Linked DNA regions of Homo sapiens: all the other regions are linked to region 1. The links are contacts of gene promoters, found by promoter capture Hi-C in blood cells and fetal thymus (Javierre and others, 2016). All regions are on one chromosome and are shown on one strand. The core of a region is centred on a gene start or on the middle of the fragment in contact, and the rest is flanking DNA. Distances in the headings are between cores, read along the strand shown.

Region 1 (3,750 bases), core at 285-2,784:
AGAAAAAAAGAAAAAGAAAATGACCAGCTTGAGAAAACTGGCTTCTGTTAAGGCTTCTTGAAGCATTCTCTGCAGAAGACTTTAACCCCAAAGGTGACCAAAACGCTGAGGCAACTGAAAAAAACTACCGCCTCTTCTGGGAAATCCTTTGTTTCTTTTCATTGGCATTATACTCTGGTCCCTTTTGCAGAGCATCTCCTTGTCATAAACATGCCAATAAACAGGACATGGGTGCTGCTGGGTTGTACAAGCTCTGCTCTTCACCTGGGTTAGGAGGCACAGATTTGTTCTTGTAACGCTCGAGAACAATCACTTCACTGAATTTTCTAACTCCTTACCAGGAAGTAAATGTTTTATTCGTCTCCCCTTTTCGGGACAGAGGGGGATTTCAATTGCTGCCCTAATAACTAATCTCTCACCATTTTCTTCTGTCCGTGATCAAAACGGTAACAAGGGAAGGGAAAAGTTGGGTTTTTTTTTTTAATTTAGTTGGTTATTGCTTTAATGCTGAACTCTCAACGTCAAAATGTGATCACAAATTGATTCGCAGAAGGAAACAAATAGAAAAAGCCTCGGGAAGGAGGGGAGAGGGCGTCGCAGACGCTCAACAGGGAACTGGGTTTAGGGGCTCGCGGGGTGGCGTCTCGGACCCGCAGCTCAGTCGCCAAGGAAACGCCGCGCAGGCGCAGAGCGTGCCGCCGCGGGGCCGGGGTTTGCCTCCACCACCCCGCGCCGCTCGGGCGCTCTTGGTTCTTCCCAGGAAAGGGCAATGGAGTATATCCTCCTCGCGCTGAGCACACCTAGTCTCTAAGAGGTCCTGAGCAGGGTCACCGGGCGCAGGAAAAGCTGTGAGACTCCCCAAGTGTAACGGACGCTGCACTCCCCTTGCTGGGAAACGCGGACCTGCTCTCCTGGCGGCGTCTGGCGGTCAGAGAGAGGGTCCCGGGACCCCGCGTGAGGGTGAAGCATCCTGCAGCGAGGCTGGACCTTCCACCGGGCGAAACGCCACCCACCACCACCGCAAGGGACCCGAGAGTTACATTATTTCGCGGACACACACACCCACCCTCATCCTTCTGAATTATGGGACCCTGAAGAGCGGCCGTGGCCAGTTCCCCGCACGGGGCCTTAGGGGATCCCCACGCACAGCACTCACAGTCCTAAACAGGCGTGTGCCGGCTGTGGCTGCCGAGAAAGGAACTTGGGCCACCTGCTCACTCGCTCATCGGACTGGCGTACCAGTTCTCTTTTTCCTGCACACCCCCTTCTCTCCTGGGCCCCTTCTTCCCCCGAAAGCACTGACCTCCTCAGCTTTGAGTGTTCAGTAGCTGAAGGACTCCTCGGAGTCCGTGGCACAAGGAGCCACCTCCGAAGTGCTGGGGTGATGAGTTATTGGCCCCTGTGACTCCAACTCCAAACCCCTGCCAAGGGCCAGAAAAGCCCCCCTAGAAGAGCACTTCTCCCCACTAGCCAGCAGAAGCCCCAGACGAGCGGGGAAGAGCAGGGCGCCGCCGCCACAACCTGCTTTCTCATTCAAATCCTCACGCTCACACAGGAGCCCCCCTCCCTCTCGGCCCCGCAGCTTCCGAGGAAATCAGGAACTGGAGTTGCGGAGAGCGGACTGGAGCGCCTGCTGCCTCCTCTGGCCCGGGCGGGATGGGTGTACGGAACCCTAGGGCTGCACGTGGAACCCCAAGGCTGCACCTGGAACCCTTGGCTTACACTCTCCTGCGGGGCTCCCCGCTTGGCAAGGGCCAGAAGCACTGGGAATGAAGTACTTTTACTCCCCCGCAAGTTTCAAAAGTTTCGAAACCCAGGGTAACCCCTCGGGGCTGTAGCCAGAGGGCCTCGGTGGTGGGGGGTAAAGGAGTTGGAGAAACAAAGTTGGAAGTGAAGGGCGCAGGGAATGGGAACTGCGTGCAACTTGCACCAAAGTGAAAAGTGTTCTCAAACGTCCGTCTTACCTCCTTTAAAAAAAAAAAATTTCTAAGAATATAGCATCTGTCGATGCCGCAAATTAAAGAGATCTACTCTGAGTGAATGGGAACTGCGTGCAACTTGCACCAAAGTAAAAAGTGTTCTCAAACGCCCGTCTTACCTCCTTTAAAAAAAAAAAATTTCTAAGAATATAGCATCTGTCGATGCCGCAAATTAAAGAGATCTACTCTGAGTGAAGTGCAACTAAAATTGAGAGCGTGTAAATGGTAACACTTTGCTTTTATTTACCCCCAGTCTCTTCATTTGGAAATGCTACTCCTTGGCATTAACAGGCCACTTATTCACTTAGATCCGTTTAGTGGCTGGTTGACTCAAGCGGGCAACCTGCCGGGAGTAAGAAGGCGGCGGTGGCAGAGGAAAGCTTGCACGAAGCAGGCACTCAAGTGTTGATGAAACGATGAAATCTACTGAATGCACTGAAAGGATGAGTGACCAGCTTGGGGCGGATGCTGGAACCGCCGCTGGCCTAGACGGCCGCGGTGTGATCCGGCTTCTGGATTCCAGGATTTACATTTATCAGCCTTCATTCAACCTGCCCTATTGTTAGTTCAAAGCCTGGCTGGGAAGGAGTGGGGACGCAGCTCTTCACTCACCTTTCAGTTTAAAATAATCCTCCAATAAGAATGTCCTAGGAAAGCTGGCAGCATGGGGTTGGCAGGGATTTTCTGGGCTTAGTGACAACATAAACTAAAGTCATTTTCTTTTTTCATGCGTGAATTTGCCCAGGAAGTTACAAACGAGTAAGTTACAAATGAGTGCCTGAGATTGGAGCTCAGGGCCTTGGCTGCCTGTTCTCTTTGACAGACAGTGTGGAGGGTGGTAGCACTGTGACCTCTCAGCGCAAGATCTAGGGTTTCACCTTTTCATCCCACTTAGCCGATACCATAGAAACAACCCATTTGTATTATTCAATTCAACAGAGGCAATTACAATGTCACAGCAAAGCACCATGGGCAAGAAGAAACTTTGTCCTGAAAACAATCCTAGACTCTCAGAAAAAAGAAAAAAGCCACCAGAATACCCACTTGAATTTCTTCCTGCCAATAGTACCAGGAAGAAATCAATTTGGAAAAAATGTAGGTAAGGTCCTTTGCCTCTATAGAAAGAAACCTCCCCAAATTTACTTGTTTTTGTTTTTGTTTTTTTGCATGCCCATACACAAGCCTCAATTTATAAGAAATTAAGTCATTAACCCTCTGCCTCCAAACTGCTTTATATTTTGTAAACAAGCTTGTTGGAGATTTGTTTTGCTGGTAACCTCCATGGTGAATAGAAAAGCCAAAAAAAAAAAAAAAAAAAAAAAAACCACCAAGATAATCCCTCAACAGCAGCAGTTCACCCCCTAACCTCCGGTGTTTGTCTTTCTTGAGTCTGAAAAAATGCAGATGCACATGTTGAAATAAACTCAGACACAAAGTTCATAATAAGAGCACTTGTTTGCTATGCATTCTTTATTTTGATAGTTTTAATCAACTCCCATAATTTTGTAAACTTTTAAATTTTTAAATTGTGTGATATTTCAAACCTACCAAAAACAGGATATATACCATGTAATACTCCTGCTCCCCCCAGCCCTTCTTTTTTAAATAAAGCATTACAGATATAGCTAAACCCCAACTCCTGACTCGTTACCCCCACCCCTTCCCAAAGGTAATAATTCTGAAGTTGGTATGAATCATAATTATGCATGTTCTTAAATGTTTAGGACATTTATACATCCATAATCTTTTAATGTAGCTTTTCTCTCCAAGT
Region 2 (3,750 bases), core at 340-2,839, 410 kb before region 1:
ATTTTGAATTACTAGACCAAAATAGGGGCTGAGATATATCTAGTTTTAATCTCCCCAGTGAATTTCATAAATGTGCTGTCAGGTTTGGGATCTTCTGATGATCTTTGATGTCTCTTCCAATACCAAGGGCCCTTGCTACTGTGAAACACCTTCCAGGGCAACAGAACCAACTCGTACTGGGCCGCTTATCTGCTCAGCTGAAGCCAGAGCGGAGAGTCATGAGAGTCATGAAAGCAGTATATTTGAAAATAAACATGGGCTTTTTATTCTGCACATAGATCTTGAAATGTATAATGTATACACATGTGTATACAAACATTAGTAATATATATCAACCAAAGGTGGTAATCAATATGAAGATTAGAAAATGCTATCGATGCCATTTCCAAAAGTGATCCACTATTTCAGTCTTTCAGAAACCAACATATGGAGCAAATTAATTTTTGAGGAAACACCAACATTTATCATTATCAAACAGAAATCAACATGACACATAATATTGTTCATCTGTTTCACTTGTAAGCCATGAGAACACTGAGAATTGGCATATATTCCATTTTCAGAGAGCCAATTTAAGTCCCAACCAGACAGCACAAAGCTCTGTAACTTACATGGAAATATTTATTAAAACAGTCAAGGGTAACACGCTTAAGGATGAAAGTAACCCTACAGATGATACCTTCTTGTCATCTGCTCATAGCCATATTCCCCTGGATCTGTGCTTGTCAATTCAAGATTGCTAAGTTCCAATAAGTTATTTGTTTGTTTTGATGGAAATACCTGGGATTCTTTTGATAGGGAGCTTGGGACTGTTTGTTTCAGAAATAAAAATAATAATGTACTACTATTAATTATTAGTAGATTTCTTTTTACATGTAAATCCTCAAAGAATCCACTTCAGGAATATGCTGTATTTATGTAGATTTTAGGGTAATAGTCTTCAGCTCTGATGTTCTCCTTCCAGTTCTTGTACCCATCTCTATCAGTACCATCAGTACCATTCTCTTTTTTTTCTTTTCTTTTTTTTTTTTTTTGAGACGGAGTCTCACTCTGTCACCCAGGCTGGAGTGCAGTGGCGTCATCTCAGCTCACTGCAACCTCCCCCTCCTGGGTTCAAGTGATTCTCCTGCCTCAGCCTCCCAAGTAGCTGGGACTACAGGCCTGCCACCACGCCCAGCTAATTTTTGTATTTTTAGTAGAGACAGGGTTTGACCATATTGGCCAGGCTAGTCTCGAACTCCTAACCTTGCGATCTGCCTGCCTCAGCCTCCCAAAGTGTTGGGATTACAGGCATGAGCCACCGCACCTGGCCAGTACCATTCTGTTGATATTTGCTCTATATTCTTAATTTGTGATAATTTATTTATTTTTGTTTTGTTGTTTTATGTGAGGCATTTCCTGGTAGACAACTGTTCACAGGCTGTGTCCTCTCCCCAGATTAAACAAAAGGGACTGTTAGATACAGAATCTTAGTTGAGATTGATGCTCAAAGATCTGAGGTGCCTTCCCTTAGGGGAAGGAGATATGAGAAATACATAGAGTCCATTTTGTCTGGGAACCCACCAACTGAGCATTTACCCGGCCCCTGAATTTATAACTGAGATAGGAGTATTTAGTCAATTTCATAGTCAGTGGTTATAATGTCAACATTGCGTCCTTGGCATGTGGAGTAAGGGGTGTCATGGTGGGGAAGGTCAGATTGAAGCCTCTGAAACTGCTCCCCTCAAATTAAAAAACGTTACATCATATACTAAGGGCAGAGGGATGGCAAAAGTCAATGCTACCCTTAAGGATCTAAAGGATTCAGGGGTGGTAGTCTTTGTGTTATCTTCATTTAATTTTCCAGTGTGGTCCCTGAAGAAACCAGATGGATTCTAGAATAGACTATTGAAAACACAATCATGTAGTAGCCCCAGTTGCATCTGCTGTGCCAGGCATGGTGTTTTTCTAGAGCAGATTAATACAGCCTCAGGTACAAAGGTATGCAGCCACTGACTTGTAAAATATGTTTTTTTTTTCTATTCTAGTCAGAAAAGTGTGTCAAAAATAGTTTGCAGTCACATGAAACAGGCAGCACTATACTTTTACAATTTGCCCCAGAGCTGCGTTAACTCCCGTGTTTCTGGCTGGAATATATTACAAAGACATCTGGACCACCTGGACATCCAACAGAGAATCACAGTGACGCATTGCATACATGTCATTATGCTAATTTATCCGGATGAGTAAGAAGTCTAGCAGGCTGGAGGTCTTAGTAAGACTCATGCACTAAAGAGAGTTGAAGATAAGACTTATGAAGATTCAAAGGGCTACATCAGAAAACATTTGGGGGTCCAGTGGTGAGGGGCATGCCAGTAGATCTTCAAATAAAAGACAAGTTATTGCATCTCACACCTTCTATCCTGAAGTAAGGAGCTCAATGCCCTAAAGTTCTGAATGTGGAATATTCCACACCTGAAAATACTCCTCTAGCCTATCTACCAGGTGACACAAAAGGCTGCTGAACTTGAGTGAGGCCAGGGGAAGAAGAAAGCTCTGCAAGAGCTCCAGGCTGTGGCGGTGCAAGTAGCCCTGACACTTGGGCCTTCAGCCAGAAATCCTTATAGTGTTCAAGATTCTAGTAGCGAGAAAGATGCTATGTGTAATGTGTGGTAAGCTCCAGTGAAGAATGACAGTAAAGCACTGAGGGTCTGGAGCTGGGCCGGGCCATATGCAGTGAATTATTAGACACCTTTTGAAAAACAACTCCTGCTTTGTTCTTGAACTCCAGAAGAGAAGTATTTCTTGGCCATGGGACACCAAGCACCCATGCATCCAAAACGTATCAGCATGAACTTGATCCTATCAGACCTACCAAATCATAATGTCCAGTGCGCCCAGCAGCAATTCATCAAAAGATAAAAATAAACAAGATCAGAGGGCCATTAAAAGTGAACAAGGCTGGGCGCAGTGGCTCATGCCTATAATCTCAACACTTTGGGAGGCCGAGGTGGGAGGATCACTTGAGGTCAGGAGTTCAAGACCAATTTGGCCAATATGGTGAAACCCCATCTCTACTAAAAATACAAAAATTAGCTGGGCATGATGGCACATGCCTGTAGTCCCAGCTACTTGGGAGGCTGAGGCAGGAGAATCACTTGAACCTGGGAGGCGGAGGCTGCAGTGAGCTGAAATGGCACCACAGCACTCCAGCCTGGGTGACAGAGCAAGACTCTGGCTCAAAAAAATAAAGGAAAGGAAATGAACAAGATCAGAGGCCCTAAGCAGGTGCTTGAACAGGTAGCTCAGACACCCTTGTCAAGCACCATGCCATTTCAGCTCAAACCTACAGCCATGTGGGTAATCACTTAGGTGCAGCTGACAGTAGGTTGGTTCAGTAGGTGGTACAAGATGAAAGTGGATAGTAGCTCTGTTGTAGCCTCACTCATATAAGTCCTCGAAAGAACAGTTTCAGATATTCTGGATGTCATCAGAACCAGAAAATAATCTGGCCCATGGAAGTTCGACACTGGCCACACCTGACCCACATTGAAATGATTTATTTTTCAAGTGACTGAGAACCACAATCATTGTCACAGGTGTTCATTATCCAGCAGATGCTATCTTTTTTATATTAACTGGCAACCTGGAAGCCAGGCAGCTGAGCTACCCTCAAGCTAATAGCAATTGATGTTTTTCAGAATCCCAAATCTCTTCAGTTTCTAATATTATCATCTTTATCTGCTGAGGGTATAAGGCTTTTATGTTGGT
Region 3 (3,750 bases), core at 922-3,421, 380 kb before region 1:
GGCCTCTTTTATAATGGCACTGTCCCATTCTTTAGAGCTCTGCCCTCATGACCCAATCACTTTCTAGTACCATCACCTTGGGGTTAAAATTTTAACACATGAATCTGAGGAGCACATAAACACTCAGTTTATTGTAAAGCCAGATACCAAAACATTTTTGAAAACTGTTTTATCAGTAAACTTACAAGCTAATGTCTGCCCAACAAACATCCCAACGATGTGCACACATGAAGTGATCCTGCAGTTAAACTCCATGAATGGAGAAGACTGGATACAATTTTCCCTCTCCCTGAGAGTAGTGACAGTGCTTTGATTTTTTGCCACTACTAAAAGCAATTATGTTTTCTGTTTAAATCCATTGAGATCCATCCTTCAATGATCCTGTATTGTTGCAGAAATTTTGCATCACTAATACAGAGTGTTTTCGACAATTGGCTTTTGTGTTCCAGGTAGACACTTGTAAAGAAAATCAAAAATATTTTACCTAAAAATACACTTCTTTGAAATATTTTGAGAAGGCTATTCAGAGGGCCTGCAGACAGGAATAGCTCTGAAAAGCTGCCTTTTGTGGAGAAGATTTGCATCCGTAGAGAAAAATCTACATTAATTATATAGAAAACTTAGCTTTCTCTGAATCCCTCCCCCTTATCTGGATCTAGGAAAAATTAACTCAATCACAGACCACTGTCTATTCTTTCTGAGAGGTGGGTTTTCATCCACTTAATAATACCACCTTTGCCCCATGCCTTTCTTCCTCTCTACCTCCCATAACCTGTCTTGCCATTCTCCAAATGCCTGTTCTTACTATAACCTCAAAATGGTATAAAAATGTCAGCCATCTGGCTCTTTCTTTGAGTTTTCACATTTTGTACAACTCTTGCACATATTAATAAATTTCGCATGCCTTTTCTCCTATTCATTTCCCTTTTGTCAGCTGATTTTCAGCAAACCTTCAGAGGGTGAAGGAGAAATTTTCCCTTGGATCCTACAGTTTTGGTGACCATGGCAGGACAACCAGATTAGGAGAAAATCATTTATACAGACTAGTCTCAGGTGTAGTGACTCTGGTGTATGTTTTGGTATGAATATTCATATTGTTTGATCCTTTCCTCCCAGAAATAGTCTTTATTTTTTTCCTTTGTCTCTGTCTTTCTGTGTCATTTGTCATAAAGTACCTCTTGTCCAATATTATGTCCTTGAGACCTTAACTTGTGACTGAATGGGACCGCTCTCTTTTGGTGTCCACCATCTAGGAGTGTAACTTTTGATTCACAGCCAGTGGCCAATGTGAAAGTAAAACAGGAAAAGTTCCTTTATCCCCCTAGCATGGTGTGCGATGGGTGTGTGGCTCAGTTCTTTGGTGCCCCACTGCTCAAACCTCTAGCAGGAGTATGCAGACTTGCCAATCATGGGGATCTGACCCCATGGCAGCAGCTGGGGGTGAATGTTTACCGCTGAAGTCCCAGTGGGCATGTGTTACAGGGTGCTCTTTCAGTTTAGCCATCCATAGGTGGCTTGTGTTGATCAGCTCAATTAAACCCCTGCCTTATCGCAAGGACAGAATGCTTTCCATATCCTGGGGTTTCTTGCCTTGGCATACTGGAAGAATTGGATCGCACGTGGGCTTGGAGAATCAATGCAAGACTTTATTGAGTGGAAATAGCAGTCAGTAAATGGGGGAGCTAGAAGGGAGACGGAGTAGGAAGATGGTTTTGCCCTGGAGTCAAGCTGCTCAGTGGCTGGGCTCTCCTTCTGCCCTGTCCAAACTCTGCGGCACTGGTGGATGGCCTGTCAGCTGGATGGCATCTGTTGGTGTGTTCTTTCACCAGTGCGTTCCTCTCAATATCCAGCCACTTGTGTCTTCTTCCACTGGTGTGTTCCTCTTGACGTCCACCTGCTTGTGTGCATGTCTGTTAGGGTCTTGGGGGTTTTATAGGCACAGGATGGGGACATGGTGGGCCAGGATGGTCTTGGGAAATGCAACTTTTGGGCACGAAAACAGAAATGCCTGTCCTCATCTAGGCCCATGGTCATAGGCTGGAGGTGAAGCCCTGGCCAGGGACCCAGACTTCTCTACCCAGTACTTCCCTGCCCGCACCCCCCCATATCAAAAGGACTGGGAATCTCTAGACACATAAGATATTAAGCAGCACACTCTTTGTTCAGAATGTGCCAAGCTCTCAGGGGAGTTTGTATTAATAAGAATTCCCATCCATAGGCTGGGTGCAGTGGCTCATGCCTGTAATCCGAGCACTTTGGGAGGCTTAGGTGGGTGGATCACCTGAGATCAGGAGTTCAAGACCAGCCTGGCCAACATGGCAAAACCCTGTCTCTATGAAAAATGCAAAAATTAGACAGGTGTGGTGGCATGCACCTGTAATCCCAGCTACTTGGGAGGCAGAGGCAGGAGAATCGCTTGAACCCAGGAGGCAGAGGTTGCAGTGAGCTGAGATTGCACCACTGCACTCCAGCCTGGGTGACAGAGGGAGACTCTGTCTCAGAAAAGAAAGAATTCCCACCCATGAGGGGCTTTTGTTGTCTCAATCCTTGTTGCCTGATTAGGCCTGGGAAAGTCCAATCCCAGGGGGGTATACCCAGTGTCACAAATTAACAAGCCTGTGACTGGCAAGCCCCCACAAATTTGTGGGATACTAGAGGCACCATACATATGCACAGACATCATCCTTAACCATCTGTGGAAGGAGAGTCTTTTGTTATTTAACTTATTTCTGGGAGTAAATTTTTGAGGGTTTCATATGATGCTGCATCTTCTGCACCCATTTTTAAAACGCCACTTATGTCCATGGTGTTCCTTCCATTAAAAATGTCTGTTGGCTTGAGTCGCTTATGAAATAAACAAAAGGACTATATTTAAAAGAAAACTTTTTAGAGAGCTCTTATCTTAAATAGCCATCTTATTGGTATCTATGAAAAAATACAAAAGAAATATAGCCTTTAAAATTCTATTGGCAAGATTCCAAAATGGCAGAAATCAGATTTAAAACAAAGTTAAAACCCTGTGTATACACACACTGCCTGCTTTGGATTCCCTGTGGGATATGCAAAAAGGGCAATCCAGCCTGTATTCTAGTGGCGAGGATTCCATGCTTTCACATCCACTGCCCAGGTTTGATTCCCAGACGGAGAACCAGTCCCTTAGAGATGTAAGTCCTTTAACCCAGGAGGTAAAAAGAAACATTTATAAGTAAGGAGAGCAAAGATCACCTAGTGACCATCAAGCAGGCCATTAAGAGACAAAAAGAAAAATTCCTTATTTGAGGAATTTAGAAGTAATTAGACTTCCCTATTATCTAAAGTCAGCACCTGGTTCCAGGCCTCTTTTCAACTTAAAATTTACAGGAAACTAGAATGTCTATACACCTCCAGAATGCATGCATGCCGAACTGCCAAACTCATTGTGCAATCCTTACCGACATTAAGGCACCAAGATGTCTACAAATGTAATCGTTTATCATGCAAATTACCCTTCAGCTTCCGCTTTAAGGTCTCTAAACACCTCTAAAGAAAAAGCCACCATGCTGTGCTCAGTCCTCTCTTGCTGAGGCCCCCCGCTGCACTCTTCTGCAGCGTTCCTTCTTTCTAAAAAATATTTCTGTTTTCAAACCCATACCGTTGTCAGTAAATTCTTACCAACCCACAAGTCAACCACTTTCCAATGCCAGGGCTCTGACACCTCGCCCAGCAATAAGAATTAGTTTGGATTACTTATTTTGAATTTATATTTGTGTG

Evidence for each region. Contacts are between HindIII fragments. The CHiCAGO score rates a contact against its expected background, and 5 or more counts as called.
Region 2: a fragment that was not itself captured here is called in contact with the fragment with the promoter of PLCH1 in region 1 in 2 of 17 cell types (megakaryocytes and fetal thymus); the score reaches 6.0 in megakaryocytes.
Region 3: a contact is called between a fragment that was not itself captured here and the fragment with the promoter of PLCH1 in region 1, in 1 of 17 cell types (megakaryocytes). The highest score is 10.0, in megakaryocytes.

The regions. Positions count from the first base shown.
Region 1 is chr3:155,743,537-155,747,286 of GRCh38, forward strand. It overlaps PLCH1 (phospholipase C eta 1), which reads right to left and starts at 1,535. Exons shown (of 23, transcript NM_014996.4): 1 at 1,304-1,535. RefSeq lists enhancers at 772-1,393, 1,288-1,497. The HindIII fragment of the contact is 4,475 bases long and covers 1-2,357 here.
Region 2 is chr3:155,330,752-155,334,501 of GRCh38, forward strand. No RefSeq gene overlaps it. Among named protein-coding and RNA genes, the nearest start is that of STRIT1, 39 kb to the left of the region's middle. The HindIII fragment of the contact is 8,170 bases long and covers 1-3,750 here.
Region 3 is chr3:155,360,017-155,363,766 of GRCh38, forward strand. No RefSeq gene overlaps it. Among named protein-coding and RNA genes, the nearest start is that of STRIT1, 68 kb to the left of the region's middle. RefSeq lists enhancers at 2,784-3,462, 3,463-3,750. The HindIII fragment of the contact is 6,745 bases long and covers 1-3,750 here.